4 separate regions of the Homo sapiens genome follow, and regions 1, 2 and 3 are each linked to region 4. Evidence: promoter capture Hi-C in human tissues and cell types (Jung and others, 2019). All regions are on one chromosome and are shown on one strand. Each heading gives the region's core, a stretch centred on a gene start or on the middle of the fragment in contact. The rest is flanking DNA. Distances are from core to core; before and after follow the strand shown.

Region 1 (3,183 bases), core at 495-2,994, 260 kb after region 4:
TAGTTTTTTTCTAATTCTGTGAAGAATGTCAGTGAATTGTTTGGGAATAGCATTGAATCTATAAATTATTTTGACAGTGTGGCCATTTTCATTATATTGATTCTTCCTATCCATGAGCATGGAATGTTTTTCCATTTGTTTGTGTCCTCTCTTATTTCCTTGAGCAGTGGTTTGTAGCTATCCTTGAAGAGGTCCTTTACATCCCTTGTTAGCTGTATTCCTAGGTATTTTATTCTCTTTGTAGTGATTGTGAATGGGAGTTAATTCATGATTTGGCTTTCTGCTTGCCTATTGTTGGTGTAAAGGAATGCTTGTGATTTTTGCACATTGATTTTATATCCTGAGACTTTGCTGAAGTTGCTTATCAGTTCAAGAAGTTTTTGGGCTGAGATGATGGGGTTTTCTAAATATAAAATCATGTTGTCTTCAAACAGAGACAACTTGACTTCCTCTCTTCCTATTTGAATATGCTTTATTTCTTTATCTTGTCTGATTGCCCTGGCCAGAACTTCCAATACTATGTTGAATAGGAGTGGTGAGAGAGGGCATCCTTGTCCTGTACTGGTTTTTAAAGGGAATGCTTCCAGCTTTTGCCTGTTGAGTATGATATTGGCTGTGGGTTTGTCATAAATAGTTCTTATTATTTTGAGATATGTTCCATCAATACCTAGTTTACTGAGAGTTTTTAACATGAAGCCATGTTGAATTTTATCAAAGGCCTTTTCTGCATCTATTGAGATAATCATGTGGTTTTTGTCTTTGGATCTGTTTATGTGATGGATTATGTTTGTTGATTTGCATATGTTGAACCAGCCTTGCATCCCAGGGATGAAACCGACTTGATCGTGGTGGATAAGTTTTGTGATGTGCTGCTGGATTCAGTTTGCCAGTATTTTATTGAAGATTTTTGCATTGATGTTCATCAGGGATATTTGGCCTGAAGTTTTCTTTTTTTTGTTGTGTCTCTTCCCAGTTTTGGTATCAGGATGATGATGGCTTCATAAAATGAGGCCTCATAAAATGAGTCCCTCCTTTTCAGTTGTTTAGAATAGTTTCAGGAGGAACAGTACCAGCTCCTCTTTGTACTTCTGGTAGAATTCGGCTGTAAATCCGTGTGGTCCTGGACTTTTTTTGGTTGATAGGCTATTAATTACTGCCTCAATTTCAGACTTCTTATCAGTCTATTCAGGGATCTGAGTTCTTCCTGGTTTAGTCTTGGGAGGGTATATGTGTCCAGGAATTTATCCATTTCTTCTAGATTTTCTAGTTTATTTGTGTAGAGGTGTTTATAGTACTCTCTGATGGTAGTTTGTATTTCTGTGGGATCAGTGGTGATATCCCCTTTGTCATTTTTTATTTTGTCTATTTGATTCTTCTCTCTTCATTAGTCTAGCTAGCAGTCTATCTATTTTGTTAATTTTTTCAGAAAACCAGCTCCTGGATTTGTTGATTTTTTTTTTGAGGGTTTTTTGTGTCTCTAGCTCCTGCAGTTCTTCTCTGATCTTAGTTATTTCTTGTCTTCTGCTAGCCTTTTTTTTTTTTTTTTTCGAGACAAAGCTTTGATCTGTCGCCCAAGCTGGAGTGCAGTGGTGCAATCTCAGCTCACTGCAAGCTCCGCCTCCGGGGTTCATGCCGTTCTCCTGCCTCAGCCTCCTGAGTAGCTGGGACTACAGGCGCCCGCCACCACACCTGGCTAATTTTTTGTACTTTTAATAGAGGCGGGGTTTCACCGTGTTAGCCAGGATGGTCTTGATCTCCTGACCTTGTGATCTGCCCGCCTTGGCCTCCCAAAGTGCTGGGATTACAGGCTTGAGCCACCGCGCCCGGCCTTCTGCTAGCTTTTGGATTAGTTTGCTGTTGCCTCTCTAGCTCTTTTAATTGTGATGTTAGGGTGTCGATTTGAGATCTTTCTAGCTTTCTGATGTGGGCATTTAGTGCTGTAAATTTCCCTCTTAATACTGCTTTAGCTATGTCCCAGAGATTCTGGTACGTTGTCTCTTTGTTCTCATTGGTTTCAAAGAACTTCTTGATTCTGCCTTAATTTCATTATTTACCCAGGAGTCATTCAGGAGCAGGTTGTTCAATTTCCATGAAATTGTGTGGTTTTGAGCGAGTTTCTTAATCCTAAGTTCTATTTGATTGTATTGTGGTCTGAGAGACTGTTTGTTATGATTTCAGTTCTTTTGCTTTTGCTGAGAAGTGTTTTGCTTCCAATTAGTGGTTGATTTTAGAATAAGTGCCATGTGGCACTGAGAGGAATGTATATTCTGTTGATTTAGGGTAGAGTTCTGTAGACGTCTACCAGGTCCACTTGATCCAGAGCTAAGTTCAAGTCCCGAATATCCTTGTTAATTTTCTGTCTCATTGATCTGTCTGATACTGACAGTGGGGTGTTAAAGTCTCCCACTATTATTGTGTGGTAGTCTAAGTATCTTTGTAGGTCTCTAAGAACTTGTTTTATGAATTTGGGTGCTCCTGTATTGGATGCATATATATTCAGAATAGTTAGCACTTCCTGTTGAATTGTTCCCTTTGCCATTATGTAATGCCCTTTTTTGTCTTTTTTGATCTTTGTTGGTTTAAAGCCTGTTTTGTCAGAGACTAGGATTGCAACCCCTGCTTTTTTTTTTTTTGCTTTCCATTTGCTTGGTAAATTTTCTTCCATCCCTTTATTTTGAGGCTGTGTGTGTCTTTGCACATAAGATGGGTCTCCTGAATACAGCACACCAATGGGTCTTGACTCCTTACCCAATTGGCCAGTCTGTGTCTTTTAATTGGGGCATTTAGCCCATTTACATTTAAGGTTAATATTGTTATGTGTGAATTTGATCCTGTCATCATGATGCTGTTTGGTTATTTTGCATACTAGTTGATGCAGTTTCTTCATAGTGTCATTTGTCTTTATATTTTGGTGTGTTTTTACAGTGGCTGGTACTGGTTTTTCCTTTCCATATTTAGTGCTTCTTTCAGCAGCTCTTGCAGGGCAGGCCTGGTGGTAATGAAATCCCTCAGCATTTGCTTGTCTGGAAAGGATTTTATTTCTCCTTAGCTTATGAAGCTTAGTTTGGCTGGATATGAAATTCTGGGTTGAGGCTGGGTGCAGTGGCTCATGCCTGTAATCCCAGCACTTTGGGAGGCCAAGGTGGGTGGATCATGTGGTCAGGAGTTCGAGACCAGCCTGGA
Region 2 (3,451 bases), core at 789-3,288, 320 kb after region 4:
TGATGATGATGATGAAATCTGGATGCAGTCACTTTAGGCCTTCACTGACCACAATCACCATAGTCTTGTTATGTCAGCTTAATTATCTTTTTTTAATTGGGGAAAAACTATCAGCAGAGGAATCAACGAGGCAAGAAGAAAAATTGAATTGTTTTAAGGGAAGGGGATTTGTAAATTGAAGTCTGATCACAGGTGAGCAGTCAGGATGAGGGAAGATTGAAGGAACTGGGTCTGTTGGATTTGAACACAAGAAAATTCAGGAGGAATCATGGATATCTTCATATCTCTAGCAAGCTGTCCAGGAGGAGAGGAAACAGACATGTTCTGTGAGGGTAGAACTAGGACCAGGAACTAGAGTGCAATGGTGCGATCTCGACTCACTGCAACCTCTGTGTCTTGGGTTCAAGCAGTTCTCCTGCCTCAGCCTCTGCACTCCAGTGGCTGAAAAAATGTTCAGGGTAAGATTCTTAATAAGTCAGATTTTTAGCTCAGAGTGAAGAATTTTCTAACTTCAGAGCTCTCCAGTCGGTGCTTTGACTCACTGAAGAGGTTCTGAGCATACCATCATTAGAAGAGTATGCTGCGGGAGGCTGAGGCAGAAGAATTGCTTGAACCGAGGAGGCAGAGGTTACAGTGAGTTGAGATCGCACCACTGCACTTTAGATTGGGCGATAGAGTGAGACTCTGTCTCAAAAAAAAAAAAAAAAAAAAAGAGTGGCCGGGCGTGGTAGCTCACACCTGTAAATCCCAGCACTTTGGGAGGCCGAGGTGGGTGGATCACGAGGTCAAGAGTTCAATACCAGCTTGGCCAACATGATGAAACCCCATCTCTACTAAGAATACAAAAATTAGCCAGGTGGGGTGGCATGTGCCTGTAATCCCAGCTGCTTGGGAGGCTGAGGCAGGAGAATTGCTTGAACCCAGGAGGCGGAGGTTGCAGTAAGCCGAGATAGCGCCACTGCACTGCAGCCTGGAGACAGAGCAAGACTCCGTCTTGGAAAAAAAAAAAAAGTATGCTGGCAGAGGCTATGCTGCCAGTCATGTGTGCCACTATAAAGGGTATTCCTGTGCTGAGTGACAAGTTGGACTCAATCACCTCTAATACCCCTTCCAACTCTATAATTCAGTGCCTGTGATACTTTTCAATAACACAACCATGACCTTTCCACTGAGTGGAAACAGTAGTTGTTGTTTTATTTCTTTTCTTAAACACAGCCATCTTTGACCAAATTGACTCTCCAGAGTAATTTCCTTTTTTCCTTGGTTTTGAAGATAAAGTAAAAGAATTTTGGCAAAGTAAATGGCAGCCAAATCCAGAGATTTTCTCTGAGTAGACTCATTTTGAGGAGAGGCAGGGAGGTTGGTAGGAATGGGTTCTGTCTCCACTCTCTACTTATTAGCTCTGTAAGAGAAGTCTTAATATCCTCTCTCTAAAATGGAACTAGTAATATATTTTGTTGACTTTGGGTAGAGATTAAATCAGATATAGAAGTGCCTAGCACAGTGGCCAGAACATAATACAGATTCAAAATTACATCCTTCCTCTTGCCCTCTTCTTTATTATCTTGAGAGAATAAAGATTTTTTTTTTGGTCATTGTTTTGGTTTTGATCACCCTAGGGGGTCATTTGCAGGGCAGTTTTCTTTTTAATTGTGAGCTTCAGACCTAAAATGTCTTCATTGCCTAAGTATTCTCCTGCTCACAAAGAAGTAAGCCTCTTTGTCTTTCTGAGCCAGGGAGTTTGTCTTCCTCTGGCCTTTTGATACTCTGCTATTTTAAGCTCCTAAAGGTAAAGTATTTTCAGAAATAGTCCCCTGATTTCTGTTGAAAGTAATTTCTAATTTCCATATTAATCAAAAAATAGCTTTACATTTCTTTAGTCCTAATCCTAGTACCAACAAGAAAAGAGGCTTAGATTGTATTGACATCTATAAAGCAATTAAAATGTACACATCAAAATCCCAGAATACCTGATCACTACTGCAGCCTTTAGGATATAAAGGAAAAAAGCTAACTTGTGTCCATTTATTCTCTTCACTCTTGACCTTCAAAAAATACAAATACAAAAGGGGCAGGCTTGTTTCTAAGGACAAAGTGATAATTATTTGGTAGGTGTGGAAAAGGCATTGCTTTTGGGATTCCCTTCCCAATTCGACCACTGACTTGCTGAATAATCTTAACCAGAAAGTTACTTCACCTCTCAACCTCTATTTGATTAGCTATAAAATGGGAGAAATCACATTAGGATTGATTTGAGGCTCAAATGAAAAGCAAATGCGAAAATATCTTTTGTATGAGAAATGAGTGAAATAGAGACGGTATGTCTTTTCAAGAACTCAGTGTACAGTCATGTGTCACAAGACTGTAGAGATCCTGAGCTCAAGCAATCCTCCTACTTCAGCCTCCCAGAGTGTTGAGATTACAGGTGTGAGCCACCATACCTGACCAGACATAATGTATTAACAGTTATAAAACTCCTGGACTCAGGCAATGCTTGAGATCCTGTAATTAATAAATAAATAAATAAGTAAAGTAAGAAGGGAAGGAAGGAAGGTAAGAAAAGAAGTAAGAAAGGAAGGAAAGAGAGGGAGGGAGGACCAAATAAAGCTCCCTGTAATGCTGCCATTATATAATATCTGCCAAATTCAAGTGAATTAAAAATAATTCCACTTGGAAACATTGAAGGAACATCCTATAATTGCCCCTAAAGTGAAAGACATCTGAAATGACAAAACAGGAGTGTGATTACCTGTGGCTGCACAATTTCTCACATGAAGCTGAGTACAGATTTTGGCTATGAGACTGGATCACCTGGCTTCCCAGATTAGACCCCTGACTTTCTTCTTGAGAAGTAGCACACCTCCAGATTGCTAATTAATCAACAAGTTAGCTACCTCAGTTCTAAAATCAGAAAATGATCAGGGGGTAAAGAGATGAATTTTCTTTGGAATTGGAAAGGATTTAGGGAAAGGCATATTAACAAAGATACATTATTAAAGCTCCAGTATTTACAAATCCCAAAGAAGCTTTTAGGGATTTAGGGATTTAATCTTTGACTTTTAAAACCAGCTTTTCATTGTCAGTCAGAATACCAGTGAGCATTTAACAACTGCAGGAAGCAGTGAGACAGGCACTTATACACTGCTAGAACAAGTACAAATTGATGGTCTTTCTAGAAAACAGTATGGCAAAGTATGTGAAGGTTCTTGGGATGTCACGTCTCTTCAAACCTCCACTATTTCCCTGAATCCCACATCTATTGCCAGGAGCTTGCAGTAGCCTCTCAGCTGATTGCTATGCTTCTCTACCCGCTTATAGTCTGTTTTCAACACATCAATCAGAGTGACCCTTTTCAAACATAAGTCAAAGCATGTTATTCTTCTGCTGAAAACCCTATGAGGTCTTCTCATTTCACTCAGAATAGAAGTCTAAGTCCTCACAGTGGCCTGTA
Region 3 (3,548 bases), core at 300-2,799, 300 kb after region 4:
ATGAAATGTTCTTTTTATTTTTAAAAAACCTCCTTTACCTTTCTTAGATTAGACTTTTCTTCCCTATCTTTCCACTGTTATCATTCAGGTCATTATTACTCTTTCTGGGATTAAGTTGCCTCTTAACTGGACTTCCTAACTCCTTTCATATACCCCTGTCCCCAGTCTGTTCTTTACATAACATAGCCATAATCGTTTTTCTCTCTTGAAAATTTGACATCACTCCAATGCTTAAAACCCTTCAATGACTCTTCACTGTCCTTTGGATAAAGTCCAAACTTCTTAGCTTGCAATAGAAAGTTTTTATGACCTTACCATTCAGGTATCTCCAGCCCATCTCCTGCTCATCCTATTTATCTATATTCTCAGTCCATCTGGTGGCTGGTATTATGTTTTTATTTAGAATTATAAGATGATTAGAGACCATCAAATCCAACCCTGTTCTTAGATGAGAAACCTGAGGTCTAATAAGTGCCTAAGGAAAGCACTTAAGATTCACAGTGGGCCATGTGCCGTGGCTCATACCTGTAATCCCAGCACTTTAAGAGGCTGATGGGGGAGGATCTCTTGAGGCCAGGAGTTTGAGACCAGCCTGAGCAACATGGCGAGACCTCATCTCTATAAAAAAATGTAAAAATTAGCTGGGTGTGGTGGCACCTGCCTGTAGTTCCAGCTACTCTGGAGGCTGAGTTGGGAGGGTCACTTGAGCCCAGGAAGTCAAGGCTTCAGTGAGCCATGCTTGTACCATTGCACCCCAGCCTGGGTGACAAGAGTGGAGACCTTGTCTTAAAAAAAAAAGATTGACAATGAATTCAGTATCTGATTTACTCCTGTATCTCTAATACCCAGCTAGGCCCCTGCATGCCATGAATATTGACTAGTTTTTCAACAAATGGATGGACAGATAGATGTCAAACCTGGAAGTAGAACCCAGACCTCTGGCAGCCAATCTAGTTCTCTTTCTGCTCACCTTATAGCTGCTTTTTAATTTCCAACACACTTAGTTAGATTTCTTTAAACAAGGTAACTCTCTTATCTTCGGTCATTTCCCACCTCTCTGAGTTTCTTCTATAAAGTAGGGATAATAGTGTCTGCTTACTTCAAAAGTGCTTTGAGGGGCTGGGCACAGTGGCTCACGCCTGTAATCCCAGCACTTTGGAAGGCCGAGGTGGGTGGATTACCTGAAGTCAGGAGTTCGAGACCAGCCTGGCCAACATGGTGAAACCCCGTCTCTACTAAAAATACAAAAATTAGCCAGGCATGGTGGCACATTCCTGTAGTCCTAGCTACTGGGGAGGCTGAGGCAGGAGAATCGCTTGAACTCAGGAAGCAGAGGTTGCAGTGAGCTGAGATTGTGCCACTATACTCCAGCCTGGGCAATAGAGTGAGACTTTGTCTCAAAAAAAAAAAAAAAAAAAAAAGCATTAGTAGCCTTTGTTTATTATTCATCATCATTATATCCCCAGTACCTAGCACAGTGACTGGTACAGAGTTGGCTCTCAGTAAATTTTGAAGGAAGAAAGGGGGGAGAAGAAAGAAATAAAGGGAAGGAGATGAGACTCTAATGAATGAAGGAGGTTACAGCAGAGAAGTATGAGATGGGTTTGAGGAAAAGACTCCTGTGATTTGTCTATCCTTGCTAATGAGTAGCCCTCTGATATGGCAAGGAGAGTCTGGGACAGGTAGCCAGTGCGGGAGAGATTTTTTTCTGCTTTGTAGGTGAATAAAAATTTCATTTGGAGGCCGGGTGCGGTGGCTCACGCCTGTAATCCCAGCACTTTGGGAGGCCGAGGTGGGCGGATCACGAGGTCGGGAGATCGAGACCATCCTGGTTACCACGGTGAAACCCCGTCTCTACTAAAAATACAAAAAATTAGCCAGGCATGGTGGTGGGCGCCTGTACTCCCAGTTACTCAGGAGGGTGAGGCAGGAGAATGGTGTGAACCCGGGAGGCGGAGCTTGCAGTGAGTCAAGATTGTGCCACTGCACTCCAGCCTGGGCAACAGAGACTCCGTCTCAAAAAAAAAAAAAAAAAAAAAAATTCATTTGGATTATCTGTTGTGACTGGTCAACCCCTCTGGATAGACCAGATGGAACAGGGAGACTTTTCTGTTTTTGAGTCTTATGGAGACTGAGCAGAGACCCTCAGAGAAAACAAGAGACCCTCTTTCCTTGCCTACTTGGTTTACAGCAATTATTCTTTTTTAGAACAATGATAGTTGAAATTTGACAATTCCTTTGAGCTATTTAGCAATGAAGAGTTGTCTTCAAACCTCTTATATTACCTATGTAGTCAGCCTTAGGCTAGCTCATTTTGAGTGGCAGCTGCTTTGCTCAGGACATTTGACTTTTAAAAACAAAATGTGACCAGCCTGTGCAACATAGTGTGACCTCATTTCTTTTTTTTTTCTTTTTCCTTTTTTTTTTCTTTTTTTGACTCAGAGTCTTGCTCTGTCGCCCAGGCTGGAGTGCAGTGGTGCAATCTCGGCTCACTGCAAGCTCCGCCTCCCAGGTTCACGCCATTCTCCTGCCTCAGCCTCCCGAGTAGCTGAGACTATAGGCGCATGCCACCACGCCCGGCTAATTTTTTTGTATTTTCAGTAGAGACGGGGTTTCACTGTGTTAGCCAGGATGGGTGAGACCTCATTTCTACAAAAAAAAATTTAAAAATTGGCTGGACATGGTGGCACATGCCTGTTGTCCCAGCTACTCAGGAGGCTGAGGTGGGAGGGTTGCTTGAGCCCAGGAGGTTGAGGCTGCAGTGAGCCATGATTACGCCACTGCACTCCAGCCTGGGTGACAGAGCAAGACCCCGTCTATAAAAACAAAACAAAACAAAAACAAAGTTTGACTTTCCAGGACAAATTTTCTCTGAAGCATGTGAGAACAAAGGCTCACAAAACCGCATATAATAATACATAAGAAGCACAATACTTTACAACTTAAAGTTACGATTTGTGATCTCATTTAATCCTTACAACAAGCACTGTGAGGTAGAAATTTCTATTAGAGGCTGGGTGCAGTGGCTCACGCCTGTAATCCCATCACTTTGGGAGGCCAAGGCGGGCGGATCATGAGGTCAGGAGTTTGAGACCAGCCTGGCCAACATAGTGAAACCCCATCTCTACTAAAAGTACAAAAAATTAGCCGGGCGTGGTAGCAGGCACCTGTAATCCCAGCTACTCGGGAGTCTGAGGCAGGAGAATCACTTCAATCCGGGAGGCGGAGGTTGCAGTGAGCCGAGATCGCACCATTGCACTCCAGCCTGGGCGACAGTGCAACGAGACTCCATATCAAAAAAAAGAAAGAAAGAAATTTCTATTAGAACACTTATTTTACAGATGAGGAAAGAGTCAGAAATCCAAGCTCTTTCCACTCCACTGAAGTGTCAGGCAAGTCCTCTCTGGGTTTTGTAGTCCATATAAGCAGTGATTTTGTATCTGTCTCAGATACTGTGTGTGATGCTAAAAGCAGATGGATTAAACCTTGTCAGGGCAAGAATCATGCACATTAAACTATGTGTTTGCTTGTGACTGATTTACATGCGA
Region 4 (3,402 bases), core at 113-2,612:
TTTTTTTTGGAGACAGAGTCTCGCTCTTGTTGCCCAGACTGGAGTGCAATGGTGTGACCTTGGCTCACTGCAACCTCCGCCTCCCGTGTTCAAGCGATTCTCCTGCCTCAGCCTCCCAAGTAGCTGGGATTACAGGCACCCGCCACCACACCACGTTAATTTTTTGTATTTTTAGTAGAGATGGGGTTTCATCATGTTGGCCAAGGCTGGTCTGGAACTCCTGACGTCAGGTGATCCACCCAACTCAGCCTTCCAAAGTGCTGGGATTACAGGGATGAGCCACCACGCCCGGCTTTTTTTTTTTTTTTTTTTTTTTTTTTCTGTTGAGATGGAGTCTCGCTCTGTCGCCAGGCTGGAGTGCAGTGGTGTGATCTCGGCTCACTGCAACCTCCGCCTCCCGGGTTCAAGCGATTCTCCTGCCTCAGCTTCCCGAGTAGCTGGGACTACAGGCGCGCGCCACCACCCCCAGCTAATTTTTGCATTTTTAGTAGAGACAGGGTTTCACCATGTTGGCCAGGATGGTCTCGATCTCTTGACCTCGTGATCCACTCGCCTCCGCCTCCCAAAGTGCTGGGATTACAGCCGTGGGCCACCGCGCCCAGCCCGCTTTATGGATTTTGCAAGTCATTTACTCCCTCTAAGCTTCAGTTTCCTCATCTGCAAAATTGGGAGGCCATGATTCTGGCAGTTATAACATTCCTGGGAGCAATGGAGGAGAATGTTATTTAGTAAGATGCCTGTGAGGAATTATGATGAGAGGATGGAGAAGGTGGGGTGTGTGCAATGGTGAAGAAGGGATCTGAGGACTGTGAGGCACGGCTGAGGGCTCAGGAAAGAGGCTCCCATTACAAATTTTAAGGCTATAGGACCCCACCCACACTTTTTGGGGGATCATATTCCACCTTTGTCCCGGCCCCGCCTCCGCCCCACCCTTCTCCCCCTCCCCTTTCTTTCCTTCCCCTCCCCTCAGGCTGAGAGGCGCCACACTTCTTATGGCCGCCACAGTGCTCCGCTTTCCACAGCTCGAGGGCTGCGCGCGCTCTCACGCTGCCACCTCACTCGCGTGTGGGCTCGCCCTCAGCCCCTTCCGATTGGCTCATTATGTAAGTGACGTAAGGGCTCCAGCCTCCCACTAACTTATCCCTGGCTTGCCCCGCCTCCTCCTGGCTTCTTTTGACGCCAGTGGAAACCTAACCTGCCCCGTCGCCGCCGTGCGGGAGGAGCCGGTAGAGCTGTCCAAACCAGGAAGGCGATGGCGATGGCGGTGGCGCGCACGCATGCACGCACGCACGCACGCCAGCGGCCGGCGGGGCCGCAGGCTCGCGCCCGGGCTCGCCCCGCGCCGCTCCAGAGGCTCGCGCACTCAGCAGGTTGGGCTGCGGCGGCGGCGGCAGCTGTGGAAGCTCAGGCGCTGCGCGTGAGAGGTCCCAGATACGTCTGCGGTTCCGGCTCCGCCACCCTCAGCTTCTCTTCCCCAGGTCTGGGAGCCGAGTGCGGAAGGAGGGAACGGCCCTAGCTTTGGGAAGCCAGAGGACACCCCTGGCTCCTGCCGACACCGCCCTCCTTCCCTTCCCAGCCGCGGGCCTCGCTCGGTGCTAGGCTACTCTGCCGGGAGGCGGCGGCGGCTGCCAGTCTGTGGAGAGTCCTGCTGCCCTCCAGCCGGGCTCCTCCACCGGGCCTTGCAGGGGCCGAGAGAGCTCGGTGCCCGCCCTTCCGCTCGCCTTTTTCGTCAGCTGGCTGGAGCAGCATCGGTCCGGGAGGTCTCTAGGCTGAGGCGGCGGCCGCTCCTCTAGTTCCACAATGTCCACGGGCGGAGACTTCGGGAATCCGCTGAGGAAATTCAAGCTGGTGTTCCTGGGGGAGCAAAGCGGTGAGTGCGTGGCTCCCCTACTCCTGGCAGCTGGCCGCAGCGTCCCCGCACCGCCCCCGGTGCGGCCCTTCCGTCCGCGGAGGCTCCCTGCCCGCCTCGCGTCCGCGCTCGTTGCCACCGCAGCCCTTCCCGATGTGCCCCCCGGTGCCACTGGCTCTTCGCCAGTGGCCGAGTTTTTACCCTGTTCCCCGGGTTCTTCAATCCTCGACTCCCCGGCTCCGTTCCCCGCAGTCCGGCCATCTCCGGTCGATCTGCCCTCCCTCCCCAGACCTCACCCCGCCCAGCCTCTTGTCCATCCCTTTCTTCCTCCGGTCTCGGTCATTGCCCGTACCCCGGCCCCCTTTCTTGAGCCCCACCCTTATTCCTTGCTCTTTTCCCAGTTCCTCAGCTCTGTGAGGCCCACTCAGGGAAGCCCCACTCCCGAGAGCGGGCCCTCTTCAACCTTGGCCAAGGAGGGTGGGATCTGGGCGTTGTTTTCCCCAGAGGCTTGGCCCTGCGAAGTGCTGATGTCGTGGAAGGTGGGAAGGGGTGGTAGTAGAAAAAATTAAATGATTTTCACCTGGGTGGGAAATTAGTCTGGGCCATAGAGGAAACATCTGAATTGGAGACGACTTGAGCATGGGGTGGTTGGGGGTGAAAGGGGTAGCGTCGGCAGTGGAGATTTTTGCCCCTTAGGTTAGATGGGGCTGTGGCTTGTCGGAAAACCTCATTTTGTTCTCTTGACTTTCATCACTGACAATTCTTTTGGCAATGTTGATGATTTTTCAATCTCTGCCAGATGCTATGTCATGATCATTTTACTTGGAATTTTTCTCATCTCACCTCCCCTTTTTCTCTTTTCAACATGAAGCAGCGTCTGAGTCTCATGGTGGTACAAAAGGGAATTACTGGGGAAATGTTAATTATTCATTCCTTCTTGAGTATTTTCCAATGATATATTGAGGATTCATGTGAGAGAAGGCTTGGAATAACAAACATCTTTGTTTTGTCGGATTTCCTTTGGAAAATGGAGTAGAGTAGGAACAGACTCATCATCTAGTTACCTAAATTAGATTTAAATACCATTTGGGCTAAATAATTCTTTTATGCTTAATATTCTGTACTGTCTGATGAGTGAAATTGTTATGTCATTTACCTGGTCAGGTTCTGCTGTCACTGTACTTTTGTATTAGATACTAGATCCTAATTTTGTGATGGTTGTATCTACGATTACTTCTTGTAGTAATTCCAGTTTTATGCTGTATTATACAAACTTGACACTCGACAATTCAGAGATGATTACCCTCCTTTGTTTTTCTCATACTTTGCATGCCCATCTTTAAAATTCAGACATTGAGAGATTAGTTCTGAGTCATCAAACATTGAGTACCTACTAGGTGTTTTAGGTGAGGTTATAGAAAACATTAGTTATTTGTTTTGACTGGAAGGCATGTAAGTGATATAAATTCGTAGCTTTTATTACTACTTTGAACTATTTATACTAATTTGTATGCCATCACAGAGGTTAATACTCTTGCAAAATTGCCTCCAGT

What was found. The method cuts DNA at HindIII sites, captures the fragments that hold promoters and counts their contacts. A contact is called where the count stands out against the background at its distance.
Region 1: a fragment that was not itself captured here is called in contact with the fragment with the promoter of RAB6A in region 4 in 1 of the 25 tissues and cell types used here (liver).
Region 2: a fragment that was not itself captured here is called in contact with the fragment with the promoter of RAB6A in region 4 in 1 of the 25 tissues and cell types used here (adrenal gland).
Region 3: a fragment that was not itself captured here is called in contact with the fragment with the promoter of RAB6A in region 4 in 1 of the 25 tissues and cell types used here (lymphoblastoid cells).

What each region holds. Positions count from the first base shown.
Region 1 is chr11:73,500,466-73,503,648 of GRCh38, reverse strand. The region is part of intron 1 of FAM168A (family with sequence similarity 168 member A); the gene reads left to right. Among named protein-coding and RNA genes, the nearest start is that of FAM168A, 96 kb to the left of the region's middle. The HindIII fragment of the contact is 5,152 bases long and covers 1-3,183 here.
Region 2 is chr11:73,434,662-73,438,112 of GRCh38, reverse strand. All of the region lies in intron 2 of FAM168A (family with sequence similarity 168 member A), which reads left to right. Among named protein-coding and RNA genes, the nearest start is that of RELT, 60 kb to the right of the region's middle. The HindIII fragment of the contact is 7,386 bases long and covers 1-3,451 here.
Region 3 is chr11:73,458,373-73,461,920 of GRCh38, reverse strand. All of the region lies in intron 2 of FAM168A (family with sequence similarity 168 member A), which reads left to right. Among named protein-coding and RNA genes, the nearest start is that of RELT, 84 kb to the right of the region's middle. The HindIII fragment of the contact is 7,164 bases long and covers 1-3,548 here.
Region 4 is chr11:73,759,034-73,762,435 of GRCh38, reverse strand. RAB6A (RAB6A, member RAS oncogene family) reads left to right here and starts at 1,362. Exons shown (of 8, transcript NM_198896.2): 1 at 1,362-1,870. The coding sequence starts at 1,801. LOC124902711 (a long non-coding RNA gene) reads right to left here and starts at 1,278. Exons shown (of 2, transcript XR_007062775.1): 1 at 1,196-1,278; 2 at 1-699. RefSeq lists silencers at 755-944, 1,105-1,414 and an enhancer at 1,711-2,211. The HindIII fragment of the contact is 11,651 bases long and covers 1-3,402 here.